5 separate regions of the Homo sapiens genome follow, and regions 1, 2, 3 and 4 are each linked to region 5. The links are contacts of gene promoters, found by promoter capture Hi-C in blood cells and fetal thymus (Javierre and others, 2016). All regions are on one chromosome and are shown on one strand. The core of a region is centred on a gene start or on the middle of the fragment in contact, and the rest is flanking DNA. Distances in the headings are between cores, read along the strand shown.

Region 1 (2,700 bases), core at 124-2,623, 540 kb before region 5:
TATATATAATAAGACAAAACAATTTTTTTTTTCTTTATAGCCATGATGGTGATGATAAGAAAAGGCCAGTGATTGTTCATCGAGCCATCTTGGGATCAGTGGAAAGAATGATTGCTATCCTCACAGAAAACTATGGGGGCAAATGGTAATTTTTGTCACTGTCTTTTTTTTCTGATTAGTATAAATTGGCTACAAGAAATGTCTACTTTTCGATTTAATTATCAGATGGAAAGGGAGAATGATTCCAATCGGTTGCTTCTAACTAACGACAAGTGTTCATTAAAAAATAAGGAATCACAATCTAAACACAAACTTTTTAGCATTAAGAACAATTGCTAATAGTAATTACTTTAATTCCAGAACTTGATTTGTTTGGATGTTGTGTAATACTTTCTAATTAGGAATTAGTATTCTGTAAGAAGTATACTTACTGTTTTGGATGCTTTTCTAGTAACTTTGTTTTGGGATTTAGATGGCTTTGCTGGTTTTACATAGATAAATGAGGAGGCTTATGGCTTTCTTCGTTCAGCCTTGCTAATCATAACAAGCAGGTATTTGGACATGTTTTAAAAGCCAAGCATTTTTTAAAACAGATGCCAAACCGATCAACATTTGTGATTCATTTCTGTGAGGTTAAGTAAGTTTTTGTTTCCAAGATACATGGCCACATAACTTTCATCTTAATTCTTAAGCAGTTTTTTCTGGACCCACAGTGCATTTGAAAGCAGCACAGGGTTATAAAAGCACCCGTGTGTAGAGCCTTCCATATTAATCATATTGATTTAAAACTTTTGTAAAATGACGTACATTGGTTTAATCTTACACATTACTGTCATTTCAGTTTTATTTGAACTTGGTTACTTCAGAAATTAGGACAGTTTCTCATTCTGATCAATGATACAAGATAATCTCTAGATTTCTCAAAGTCAGATAAAATGTGAGACACATTCTCTGCAAGGTATTTCAAGAATTAAGGGAGTCCTCAGCTAATTGCTCTGCTAAACCTGTTTTAGGTGGGGAAAAGTCCATGATTAGGGTAGAATTTAGTGCCTACTTTAGCCTTTTGCCTGATACAACAGAACAACTGAAAATAGAGGAATGATGGAGAAAAACATTAGCCTGATGTTTGCAGCATCAGAAGCATTTGACACTTGTATTGCTTCAAAGGGAGAATTGGATGGGCTTATTTTTTAATAAGTAGTGAAAACTCTGATTTTTACCAAGTGCCATAACCAGTTATTATCAATTACAATTTGCTGAATGATACAAAATGGATGTTGAGTAAACTGAGGGCACTGTGTCCCCGTGAAGAATAAGTAATAAAATGAACAATTAATCACTACATGCAGTTATTAAATCATTTGTTACCTCCTCTCACAGCCAATACACAGTGTTTTGTGATGTATTAAAGTGTGAGGCCTAGTCCTATCCTCAATTTGCTTTGCTATCTACTTAGCAAGACAAATTGTAGTTACAGGCTTTCCTTACGTAGGGTTAGTTTTCTTCTCCTGCATCTCCTCGCCTTAATCTTTATTGGATAGGTCTTTTCATTTTGGGGTTTTTTAAAGCCAAGTTTTAAAAGTAGTCGTTACATGTTCCAGGAAAAGATACTGAAGAGTAGAGTAAGAAATATGCTGTCCCTGTTTAGTGAATATGCCCACATCTACACTGAATATTTTTATTCTCTTCCAAAGGCCCTTTTGGCTGTCCCCTCGCCAGGTAATGGTAGTTCCAGTGGGACCAACCTGTGATGAATATGCCCAAAAGGTAAGCCTTAGATATGAATTTTCTTTCAATTTAACATCTGTTGTTCAGCTTTTCAAATCACATAAGCCCTGTATTCTTGGTGAATCGAGCTGTTGTGATAAAGAGAAATGTTACTATTTTTAATCTTTGTTAAGCCTGAATAGATTATATTACTTCTTTAATGCTTTTCTCCATGATTCCATAATCAGAAGACATATTTGGATAGTGTTTTATGTACACTTGTATATTTTATTGTATTTGTTTTAAGAGATGGGATCTTTCTCTTGCCCCAACTGGAGTGCAGTAGTACAGTCATGGCTCACTGTAACCTCAAACTCCTGGGCTCACGCAGTCCTCCCACCTTGGCCTCCCGAGTAGCAGTGACTACAGGCAGGAGCCACCATACCCAGTTACACTTGTATATTTTAGTATTTAGTATTTTAAAAAACCAGATTAGCAGATATCAGGTACTTCAGTATGGTAGGTAAATTCCCGTTCAAAATACAGTTTAGGCTGCTCTTTGACTCAGTGAGTAATTTTGCTTCATTTTAATGTAAATTTCTTCAGGTAGTTGAAATTTTTTCAGGTTAATAGTATAGCAGACCAATGTCTTGCCTCTCTACCAAAAAAACTAACTTACCAACAAATGTATAGCCATTCATAACTTCACTTTAAAGCATTGTTCTGCCATAGTGAAAATTCCATACTAAGGAATTTCAAATTATTAAAAGTTGATGAGTGAACAATACTGTAACATCAAAACCATCATGTCTTCAGACCATCAGAATAAACCACACTCAGTTCTTAATTACCCTTAAGAAATAAATGAACTTGAGCATGGAGATGCATACCTGTAGTCCCAGCTACTTAGGAGCTTGAGGCAGGAGGATCTTTGAGGGTTCAGGGTGTGATGATTGTGCTTGTGAGTAGCCACTGCATTCCAGCCTGAGCAAC
Region 2 (2,700 bases), core at 201-2,700, 900 kb after region 5:
AAATAATAGTTTTAAATGTACAAAAATATCCATCCTTACTGAGCTGATTTATATTTGTTTTAAATTCTTTTTAGATTCAACTTTTAAAAAATACATTAGGCCAGGCATGATAGCTCACGCCTGTAATCCCAGCCCTTTGGGAGGCCGAGGCGGGTGGATTGCTTGAGCTCAGGAGTTCAAGATTAGCCTAGGGAACATAGTAAAACCCCATCTCTACAAAAAATACAAAAATTAGCAGGGCATGGAGGCATGCACCTGTAGTCGTAGCTATTTGGGAAGCTGAGATGGGAGGATTGCTTGAGCCTAGGAGATTGAGGCTGGAGTGAACTGTAATCCTACAACTGTACTCCAGCCTGGGCAACAGAGCAAGATCTTGTCTCCAAAAATAAAAATAAAAAAACTGAGATCAAAATAAATTTAGAGCTAAATCATCAGAATTAAGTAGTGACTAATAAGATGCTAAAAGAAAATCTGAAATTGGAGAGTCTTTCATCTAACAGAGTTACTAAATGCCCATTATATGTTAGGCGCCGTTCTTTGTTCACACTAGTAACAAAAGACAAAAAATAACTATGCTATTTCACATTTAACAGTCCTTAGAATGTTGACTGATTAGATATTTTCCCAAGTATCTTTTAGGTTTGTTCTGTTCTTGGTGGTTATCTAAACAAAAAATACTCTGACAACATTTAGTAAATTCATTTGTTTCCTTCTTGAATACAAACATTTTAGAAAATTCCAACTTCTTTTGTAGTCACTGCTAAATTTTGTATGCTGAGATTGAGACACTTACTAGTTATCAGGTGCTGACCCTGGCCACCTCCCAGAATTGTCCATATGCCTGGGAAGCAGTGCCTGCCATTGTGCTGGAGTAGCCTCCTTGCAGCACACTTTGCTGTAATACTCTCCAAACCAATTTTCTCTAATGCTATGTGACCTATATTAAGGTAGGGCATTCCAATATATCCTCCAATTTTGGTGAATACAATTGAATGGTTCTCAACAATGAATAGTTTGGCACACTTTTATTTGGGGGAGGTGGGGTGGTCACAATGACTAGCATCAGTGGGTAAGGGCCAGAAAGGCTAAATGAATCCTGCAATGGGATGACAGGTTTTTATCCTAAAGAACTGTCTCACTCAAAAGGCCAATAGTGACTGTCCATGGAGGGACACTCAGCTGTTGTCACCTGGTACAGTAACAAAGACAGAAGCTTCACTTTACTCATGTAATTTTTTCTACTAGACAGGAAGATAATTTTTGCATTTTATTAAATATATTTATATGCCACAAAAATTATTTTAGTGACAACTACCAGGAAAGTACAAAATCACTTAATAACTGGTTTTCTACACCTTGATTTGTCAAGAAACTCATAAGCAAATGGAAAGTAGTAAGTACTGATTGCAGTTACTTACAGCAAACAGTTTTGAGAAGAAGAAGAAAACCTGTAACACTGAAAATTGCTTTATATCCCATTCATAGATCTCTTCAAAAGGTCTACTTTAAAAATAAATCACATAAAGAATTGTTCAGACTTGTTTGGTGATGCCTCAACTTCAGAACATTTGCAAGGAAATCACATGTAAAAGCAATCATCTCATACAATTAAATGCTATTAAAGAAAAAAAAAGTTTCCTTTAAAACAGTGGTTCCCAAAATTTAGCAGGCATCAGAATCTCCTGAGGGAAGCTTGTTAAAATACAGAATGCTGGCCTCCTCCCCAGAGTTTGCTACAAGTTTGCAGGCCATTCTGATGTTGGTGCGGGCACAACACTTTGAGAACCACTACTTTAAGATCTAGTCTCTAGAATTCAAACTAATAAGCAATGCCCATATGCCTTTGCTTTTTCTAATAATAAATAAATAAAAGATCATTTCAGGTAGCTGCATCAAACTTTAAGCCTTTAGACTTTTTTTTTTTTTTTTTTTGAGGCAGAGTTTTGCTCTTATTGCCTAGGCTGGAGTGCAATGGCGTCATCTCAGCTCACCACAACCTCCGCCTCCCGGGTTCAAGCAATTCTCCTGCCTCAGCCTCCCGAGTAGCTGGCATTACAGGCATGTGCCACCACGTCCGGCTAATTTTTTGTATTTTTAGTAGAGATGGGGTTTCTCCACGTTGGTCAGGCTGGTCTCGAACTCCTGACCTCAGGTGATCCGCCCACCTCGGCTTCCCAAAGTGCTGGGATTAAAGCCACCACACCCGGCCACCTTTAGACTCTTGAAATGTTACGCTGACTCACAATTATTCCCATGAGTTCAAAAGACAGAACTAAAGGACAGTCCTGAATAATCTATGACTACAGGAAAACATTTATTTACATGCCCTCTACAAAATGGATTTACAAAACATAGTAACTATTAGGGTACATGACCTTGCTCCTATCTTCCCCATTGTGCTTCTTCTCTATAGAAAATCCAATATGAAATGACAAAGAGTACTGTACTCAGAATAAGAACTTCATCTATCATAAATGTACACATAAATATCAGTGAATTGTCATACTCAAGACTCAGATTCAGGAACTTCTTCATCAGGGCAGCAGTAATATTCCACAAAACATATTTGTCCATCTTCATTTCTAATCATATACTGTAATGAAAGGAAGCCTCTGTTATCTGTCCGAATAGATACCTTACAAGATAGGACTAATGCCTTTGTAGAGGGTTTCAGTAAGGAAATCTTGTATCTGTAGAAGA
Region 3 (2,707 bases), core at 1-2,500, 930 kb after region 5:
ACTCAGATGATCCTCCCATGTCAGCCTCCCAAGTAGCTAGGGCTACAGGAACCTGCCATCATGGCCAGCTAAAAAACTGCAGTTACTTTTGCACCAACCTAAATATTTTCTTTGGAGATGGGGTTTTGCCATGTTGTCCAGGTTGGTCTTGAACTCCTGGATTCAAGTGTTCCACCTGCCTCAGCCTTTCAAAGTGCTAGGATTGCAAGCGTGAGCCACTGCATCCAGTTAAAAGGAGTAAGTTTAGTATCTCTGAACTTGTGTTTTCTTTTTTTTTTTTTTTTTTTTTTTGGAGACAGAGTCTCACTCTGTTGCCCCGGCTGGAGTGCAGTGGCACGATCTCAGCTCACTGCAACCTCCACCTCCTGGATTCAAGCGATTCTCCTGCCTCAAGCTCCCGAGTAGCTGGGACTACAGATGCAGGTCACCGCACCCAGCTAATTTTTGTATTTTTAGTAGAGACAGGGTCTCACCATGTTGGTCAGGCTGGTCTCAAACTCCTGGCCTCAGGCGATCCACCCACCTCGGCCTCCCAAAGTGTTGGGATTACAGGCGTGAGCCACAGCGCCTGGCCCTTGTGTTTTTTTTTGAGGTGAAGTGTAACATTTTGAAAGTTCTAAAAACAATGTGCTTGTAGCAGTTGATAACTAGCCCCACATACTGTCTCGGGGGATTCCTTTCCAGCAGGGTAGAAAGAGGTATTTGTACCTGCCATTAAACCTGTTGTACTGATTGTCACTCATCCCAGTATTCCTATAGCTGCTTTTAAAACACATGCACTGTCTCCAGAAGCATTGCTTGTTTTGGCAAAGAAGACATAGTCACATGGGCAAAAAGTCTAGACCGTGTCTAATCATCTCCCTCCATCATTGGTGTCAGACTCACTTCCCACCATCATTGTCCCATGCAGGCTGATGCTGCCAATATAGGGGCTTTAAACTTGTCTGGCCCAGAGTATCTTTGCTGAAGTGGAAGAACTTTATCTTAGGGGAACAATGATGAAGAAAGAAGTATTAAAACGGATACCATTATTATAAAGGAGGGAGGAAACAACACGGGAGAAAATGGGAGTAGAATCAGCAAGGGAAAAAAAGCAAAATGGGCAATCAGAGAGAAAGGAGGCCAAAGGATGAGAATGGCGCTGTGAGAGTCATAAATGGTATTACCATATGACCTCAGGGAGAAATGACAGAGTACTAGGGGAAGTGGAAAGAGGCAGAAAAATTAGAAACAAGCAAGAAAAAGGTCAACAATGAAGGAGATTAAAAATTTTTTTTTATTTGGAAATGACACACTTAAAGGTAAATTGCAAGAAGAGAATATAGTGTGTCTGATTGACCTGTTACTAACGTTTTGCACAATTTGCATGTCCTCTTTCTCTCTACACGCTCAACACACACACAGTATTTTTCTGAATAATTTGAAAGTAACTTACATATATAGTGTTCCTTTACCTCTAAATACTTCACTATATCTTAAGAATAAGGTTATTCTCGCTGGGCGCAGTGGCTCACGCCTGTAATCCCAGCACTTTGGGAGGTTGAGGTGGACAGATCACCTGAGGTTGGGAGTTTGAGACCAGCCTGACCAACATGGAGAAACCCCGTCTCTACTAAAACTACAAAATTAGCTGGGCGTGGTGACGCATACCTGTAATCCCAGCTACTCAGGAGGCTGAGGCAGGAGAATCGCTTGAACTCAGGAGGCGGAGGTTGTGGTGAGCCAAGATCGTGCCATTGCACTCCAGCCTGGGCAATAAGAGCAAAACTCCGTCTCAAAATAAAAAAAAAAAGTAAGGTTATTCTCTTATGTAACCATGCTACAGTGACCAAATAAAAGAAATTATTAACATTGATATGGTATTTTTATCTAATTTACTACCTGCATTCCAATTTTGCCAATCAATTATTTATTAATATAGAATTTTTCTCCAATACAGAATGCAGTCTAAGAACATAATCTGGAACAGCTTGTGTTGTCTTTTATGCTGTTTACATTTTAGAAGTACACTGTTTTCACTTTTTTCATAGAATTCTTCTCATTTTGTCTTTGTGCATTTCCTCATGATTAGATTCAGGTTATGCAGCCCCAGGAGGGACGCCGCACAAGCATGTTGTGCTCTCAGGGATTCATAGCTGGAGACACGTAAAGTCCTTCTACCCCTCATTTGTCGTGATAATTTTCATCACCCAATCAAGGTGTCATCTAATTTTACTACTATACTACTAATTTTACTATAGAGTTAGTATTTTTTCCCTTGCAACAGGTTTTCCCTTGTAACATGTTTAATCTGTGAGGAGACACTTTAAAACTATGCAGATATCTTGCTTCTCATAAAAGTTTTCCTCATAGCTTTAGCATCTGTTGATGGTTTTAGCTTGCGTCAGTCTTTTTTATGATGGTTGCAGAATGATGCTTTTCCAGTGCCAGTACCCCCTCAAGTTTTTATCAGTTAGCACTTGGCCTTCTGCTGTAAACAGGAGCCTTCCCTTTTATCCATTTATCTATTATCAGTTTGAATTTATTTCTTTTTTTCAGTGTTTTATAATTCATTACTGACCTTTTCATGCTCAAATTTTTCCAGAATTGGTTAGTGAGCATTCCTTCAAACCACCCTTGTGTCCTTTTGACATGTGCTTATAACTTTTTTGGAGGACTTACTTTCAGACACAGGATCTTCCATTATCTCCAGGGCAGCTTGGTCTCA
Region 4 (2,700 bases), core at 201-2,700, 920 kb after region 5:
GGGAATAACGTAACCAAACCAAAATGAAATGTTTCCTTTTTATTAAAGATCATAGAAGAAGATGCTGCTCTTGTAGAAATAGGACCTCGTTTTGTCTTAAATCTCATAAAGATTTTCCAGGGAAGTTTTGGAGGACCAACTTTATATGAAAATCCTCACTACCAGTCACCAAACATGGTAAGCGGTTGTGTCATTCAGTAGTCTTCAATGTACCAGAACCCTTTGGCCAAAATGATTCTGTGAAGTAATTGCTGTTTTATTACCTGTGAAACTGAATTTGGTTTTTGCTGCATAGAAACTTGGAAATTACTCCCTTTTTTCATGACACTGGCTGAAAGGATATATGGTTCATAACTGAAAGTCTTTGCCTTATATAAAATGTTTATTTTTATTTCAAAAGCATCTAATCTTTTTTTTTTTTTTTTAGCATCGGCGTGTCATAAGATCCATCACAGCTGCAAAATACAGAGAGAAACAGCAAGTGAAAGATGTGCAAAAACTGAGAAAGAAAGAGCCGAAGACTCTTCTTCCACATGATCCCACTGCAGATGTTTTTGTAACACCAGCTGAGGAGAAACCAATAGAAATACAGTGGGTAAAACCAGAGCCAAAAGTTGATTTGAAAGCAAGAAAGAAACGGATTTACAAAAGGCAAAGAAAAATGAAACAGAGGATGGACAGTGGGAAAACAAAATAAGTCAATGGAAACCTGATTTGTTTTTCAGTTACTTTATATTTATTTTGTATTCAATGTGTAAATACTTTTATTATCTAATACTATCTTACGTCTAATTAGTGTAGCATTTACAAGAAAGAAAAATTAAGATCTTAAAATCAGTGATTATCTTTTTCTAAATAAAATATCACCAGAATTCATCAGTTAATTTCTGATTTCTTTTTGAAGTTTGTGTTGCTAAAAATGTAGCACACTTAATGTAGCCTGTTCTCTTGGGTTGGAATTTTTGGTTTAGCAAAGCTGAAATTCAGACATTTATTAGGTCATATTATTTGTAAAAGCATTCAACACTTCAAGAGCATCGGTTGTGGATGGTAAAGTAGGAGTAGACTGGTAGAAAGGAAGGCATCTCACTGAAGTTTACTCAGTCATCAGTTAATGAAGCCATGGAAGAACCAACCCCTGATCTGTCACTTCAAAAAAGAGTATATTAAAATGTTGAGGTTTTGAGAATCAAATGCATTAATGGCTGTGTTGAAAGCACTTTGTAAATTTTTTATTTTATTATATTTTATTTGTGAGACGGAGTTTCGCTCTTGTTGCCCAGGCTGGAGTGCAATGGCGCGATCTCGGTTCACCGCAACCTCCACCTCCCTGGTTCAAGTGATTCTCCTGCCTCAGCCTCCCGAGTAGCTGGGATTACACGCATGTGCCACCACGCCCAACTAATTTGTATTTTTAGTAGAGTTGGGGTTTCTCCATGTTGGTCAGGCTGGTCTCGAACTCCTGACCTCAGGTGATCTGCCCACCTCGGCCTCCCAAAGTGCTTGGATTACAGGCATGAGCCACCATGCCCGGCCAAATGACATACTTATTTTAGAAGCAGTGTGTATAGATTACTTATTTAGAAAACTAATAGTAAAAGGAGAGAAAAATAGGACAGTTGTTAAAGGGGATACCAGAACATTTGAATTTTTCCCCACATGAAAGAGAAACTGCCTATTGTGTAAGGGGGCACTAGGCTTAAGATCTTATGGGTAAATTAGTAACGGAAAGAAAAGATTCTGAGTACCAGTGACCATGGAGGTAGGTGGCTGCTGACATGGACAGATAGAAATACAATAAAATATATATCTAATGAAATGACACATGCTGTTTCATCACCTGCTTTTTTGACTTCACACTGATTGTTTTTCTATGTGTTTGTTCCACATGTTTACTTGCTAACTGTTAACTGTAGTATTCTGTGTACCATAGCTATGTAATCAGTATTTTCAGTTTTTCCTCTTTTTTTTGCTGGTATCGATGCTTGTAGTGAATACTTATATAGATGTGTTACATGTCTTTTTACACAACACTTGGTTTCCTAGAAGTGCAACTTAGGTTAAAGATTATGAACTCTAGGCTTTTTGCTTGTTCCCTCCACCACCATAACCTCACTAGAGGCTATTAGAGGGTTCATTTCCTTGTCCCCTTACCAGTTTCACTATGCATGAAAGAATCTGTCAATTCAATAGGTTAAAAAAAAAAAACCACCTTTTTTTTTTTTTAGTTACTGGTTTATCCTTTTTGACTGGACTAATCATGTTTGTTTTTCTGTGGTAGGATTGTCTTTTACTGATTCTATAAGTGCTTTTATATAGTAAGTTTATTATAGAGATCTTTCCTAGTTCACTTACATTTTAATTTTATGTCTTTATTATTTTAAGTATTTAGGCAGAATGATCAATATTGATGGTTTTTTTTTCCTTAAATTTTTTGCTAAGAACGGCCTTCCTGAGTGCTTAATTGGCCTTGAAATAGTCTAAATTAGGAAACTTGAAATCTTGAAGTCATCTAAATTATGCAGGTAATTCAGGTGAGAGGATCACTTGAAATACTTGTATGTGACTAGGGCCAAATCTAGTTAAATGGAAAAAAACCAAAGTGGCCGTTATTTTATTTAGGCAGTTGAATATAGTCTTGGATAAAAATAAGACAGCCGTATTCAGAATTTGTTTTTAAACACCCACATCTCAGGAACA
Region 5 (2,700 bases), core at 187-2,686:
GTATTCCCAGCCGACCTTCCTCCTAATTACAAGACCTTGGACAAGCCTCCCTCATCTTAAATGGAGCATTCTTAAATTATTACATAATCTTAATTATTAAATCATTATTGTTACAAGCCTCAAATACAGCTGTGAGGGTTAAATGAGTTAACGCATTTAAATAAGCCGGCTGTGCCGTAGGCATTCATTCATTCACCATTTACCGATTTCCCACTATAGACCAGGCAATGCTTTGGATTTCTACTTGAACAAAGTTATTCTGGCAGCTGTCTGAGAATCCACTGGAGTGATACCAGCCCCAAACACCAGTTTTTAAAAGGCTGTCACACCAGTGTCAAGGCAGTTGCAGCAGGTATGGAGAGAAATAGTCCGAGTGGGCTAAGGAGCAAAATGACTGTATTGATGATCATTGAAATTGGATGTGAAAGGAAGACTGGAGTCCATGATGAAGTACAAGTTTGAGATTCAGGCATTCACTGAAATAAATAATACAGAAGGTGGAGATGCTGTTTTAGAAGGAAGAAGGAAAGGCTCATTTTGGGATTTGTGGAAGCTGCCTGGCGGGCAGCCTTGACGGCGATGCCCAGGACCTGTGTATGCCAGCGTCTGCCGCTCTGAAAGGGGGAAGTCTACAAAAAGGTGAAAATGATGGGAATGGGTAACTGGGCTTCAGGGAGCAGATGCTGAGACTTAGAACGCCAGCATTTCAGGCAGGGAGGAGCGTTAGCCTGGGCCCGTGGATGGCTTGAGGGTACAGCACTCCAAAACGGTAGCCGAATGACCGCCTATATGCAGTTTTCCAGGAAGGGAATCCTATGGCTTTCATTAGATTCTCACAGGGTTCAAGACCCTCAATTAATTAAGAAAGGCAAATACGGAACGTTTCTTAGAAAAAAAAGGAGGAATTTGGGAAGGAGTCAGAGAGGCAAAAGGAGAAACCGGGCAACAGCAGTATCTCAGAACCCAAGTTTTGGACAATCCAGTTTGGGAAGAATGATCACTAACAATACCCTAGGAGGCAAAAATCTGGAAGGCTGGGGCCGACAAGGGTTCTTGCGGCAACAGGGCAAAGGTGTGGCGGGTGCAGCCTCGATCGAACGGCCAGGCCCCTCCCCTCCGCGGGAACTTCCCGAGAGCAGCCCGCGGGGCCCGGGCTCACCGCGGCGGAAGGGCTCCAGCAGCACATCCGACCGCTTGCACAGACGCCGCAGCACGGCGGCTCCCCGCGGCTGCTTCAGGTCCAGCACTAGCGAGCGCTTGCCCCGGCCCAAGCGGCTCACGTCGTAGCGGGAGCCGGGCCGGTCCACGCGTACCACACGCGCCCCGAAGTCAGCCAGGACCATAGCACAGAACGGGCCCGGGGCCAGGCCGGACAGCTCCACGACCGAGATGCCCTGCAGTGCCATGGCGCTTCCCAGTGCCCCGCTGAAGGAAACTGAGCAGCCCTTAGCCCCAGCCCAGCAGCCTGCAAGAAGCCCTCCCAATCCCCGGCGCCACGCCCCCAGCCGCGGCGCCGCGCCCCAAAGGCACCACCCCCGTCCCTCTTTTGCGGGCCTGCGCAAGCCCGCGGAGTCTGCGCACTGGGCGCTTCCCCACCCCCGGCCTCCCGGGACCGCCAGTGCCAAATGCAGTAGGTTGCTTTCCTTTTTGTGCAACCTAAATTCCTGAGTCTTAAATTGCAGGGACTGACCTTTGGAGCTCCTGCCTGTTACCGTCCTCTCTGGACGCTTTTATTGTACCAGGGCGATCCCCAGCCCAACTGTACCATTCGAGTCCCTACTCCTGCCTTGCTCTAGGGAAATAAAATAACGTAAACACGTAAGAACAATGCGAAAGCGTTTTCTTCCCTAGGCTGCAGATTGTCTTCTTCACCGCCCCTGCTTAGCTAGCTAGCTAGCTGGGAATTTAATCCAGAAACGGCTTGCGATACCTCCTAGATGCACTCGTTTTGAGTTACAAACTCCGCGGATTACATGTCTTTTTAAAAAAGTTTAGACTACACTAGGAAAATTATTTTAGTATCAGAAGAATATCAGGGGTGTAGTACTCATCAGAGCTAAATGAGAGCGCTTTAAAAATGTTAGTTTGTCTTCCGCCATTTCTACAGAAAGCTGCAATTTCAGGTTTTCAACCTAATAGGTGATATTTAAGAAAAAAAAAAAGCAATCGCAAATAGCCCCACTGCTTTTACAAATCATTTTTTCTCTTCTAGGTATAGCCTGTCAGGTGGCCTAATGTAATTTTTGACATCTCTAGGAATTTTAATAGAACCAGAAATGGGTGCCAGAGATATGCCTGCACTAATCTTAAGTGGGGATTTATGTATTTCTCAAGCAAGTGATTAAAGCAAAACTAGGCACGATTGAAATCAAGATCTTTTAGGCAAGAAAGTCATGATGAGTTTTAGAATTATTTTAGGACTCTGTGGCTTTCTCTTCATAGAAATAGAAAAAAAAATTGTATAAAACCACAAAAGGTCCTGAATAGCCAAAGCAACACTGAACAAAAAGAACAAAGCAGGAAGCAACACACTACCAGAATTCAAATTATACTACCAAGGTGTAGTAACCAAAACAGCATTCTATTGGCATAAAATAGACACAAAGACCAATGGAACAGAATAAAGAACCCCAAAATAAATCCATATATTTACAGCCAGCTGATTATCAATAAAAACACCAAGAACATATATTAAGGACA

What was found. The method cuts DNA at HindIII sites, captures the fragments that hold promoters and counts their contacts. A CHiCAGO score of 5 or more calls a contact.
Region 1: a fragment that was not itself captured here is called in contact with the fragment with the promoter of AMACR in region 5 in 1 of 17 cell types (erythroblasts); the score reaches 5.7 in erythroblasts.
Region 2: a fragment that was not itself captured here is called in contact with the fragment with the promoter of AMACR in region 5 in 2 of 17 cell types (activated CD4 T cells and naive CD8 T cells); the score reaches 6.8 in activated CD4 T cells.
Region 3: a contact is called between a fragment that was not itself captured here and the fragment with the promoter of AMACR in region 5, in 2 of 17 cell types (total CD8 T cells and total B cells). The highest score is 5.5, in total CD8 T cells.
Region 4: a fragment that was not itself captured here is called in contact with the fragment with the promoter of AMACR in region 5 in 6 of 17 cell types (total CD4 T cells, naive CD8 T cells, activated CD4 T cells and 3 more); the score reaches 8.4 in total CD4 T cells.

The regions. Positions count from the first base shown.
Region 1 is chr5:33,462,059-33,464,758 of GRCh38, forward strand. TARS1 (threonyl-tRNA synthetase 1) reads left to right here. Exons shown (of 19, transcript NM_152295.5): 16 at 41-145; 17 at 1,695-1,767. Among named protein-coding and RNA genes, the nearest start is that of TARS1, 22 kb to the left of the region's middle. The HindIII fragment of the contact is 3,857 bases long and covers 1-2,700 here.
Region 2 is chr5:34,906,259-34,908,958 of GRCh38, forward strand. RAD1 (RAD1 checkpoint DNA exonuclease) reads right to left here. Exons shown (of 6, transcript NM_002853.4): 6 at 1-2,690. The coding sequence ends at 2,507. It also overlaps a transcript of TTC23L not described here. Among named protein-coding and RNA genes, the nearest start is that of RAD1, 7.9 kb to the right of the region's middle. The HindIII fragment of the contact is 479 bases long and covers 1,212-1,690 here.
Region 3 is chr5:34,941,293-34,943,999 of GRCh38, forward strand. The region is part of intron 7 of DNAJC21 (DnaJ heat shock protein family (Hsp40) member C21); the gene reads left to right. Among named protein-coding and RNA genes, the nearest start is that of DNAJC21, 13 kb to the left of the region's middle. The HindIII fragment of the contact is 3,892 bases long and covers 1-2,707 here.
Region 4 is chr5:34,924,799-34,927,498 of GRCh38, forward strand. It overlaps BRIX1 (biogenesis of ribosomes BRX1), which reads left to right. Exons shown (of 10, transcript NM_018321.4): 9 at 49-177; 10 at 428-1,198. The coding sequence ends at 697. LOC124900961 (a long non-coding RNA gene) reads right to left here. Exons shown (of 2, transcript XR_007058731.1): 2 at 714-2,700. It also overlaps a transcript of TTC23L not described here. Among named protein-coding and RNA genes, the nearest start is that of DNAJC21, 3.4 kb to the right of the region's middle. The HindIII fragment of the contact is 4,450 bases long and covers 1-2,700 here.
Region 5 is chr5:34,006,614-34,009,313 of GRCh38, forward strand. It overlaps AMACR (alpha-methylacyl-CoA racemase), which reads right to left and starts at 1,437. Exons shown (of 5, transcript NM_014324.6): 1 at 1,160-1,437. The coding sequence starts at 1,406. The region is part of intron 6 of C1QTNF3-AMACR (C1QTNF3-AMACR readthrough (NMD candidate)); the gene reads right to left. RefSeq lists a silencer at 1,574-1,653. The HindIII fragment of the contact is 12,530 bases long and covers 1-2,700 here.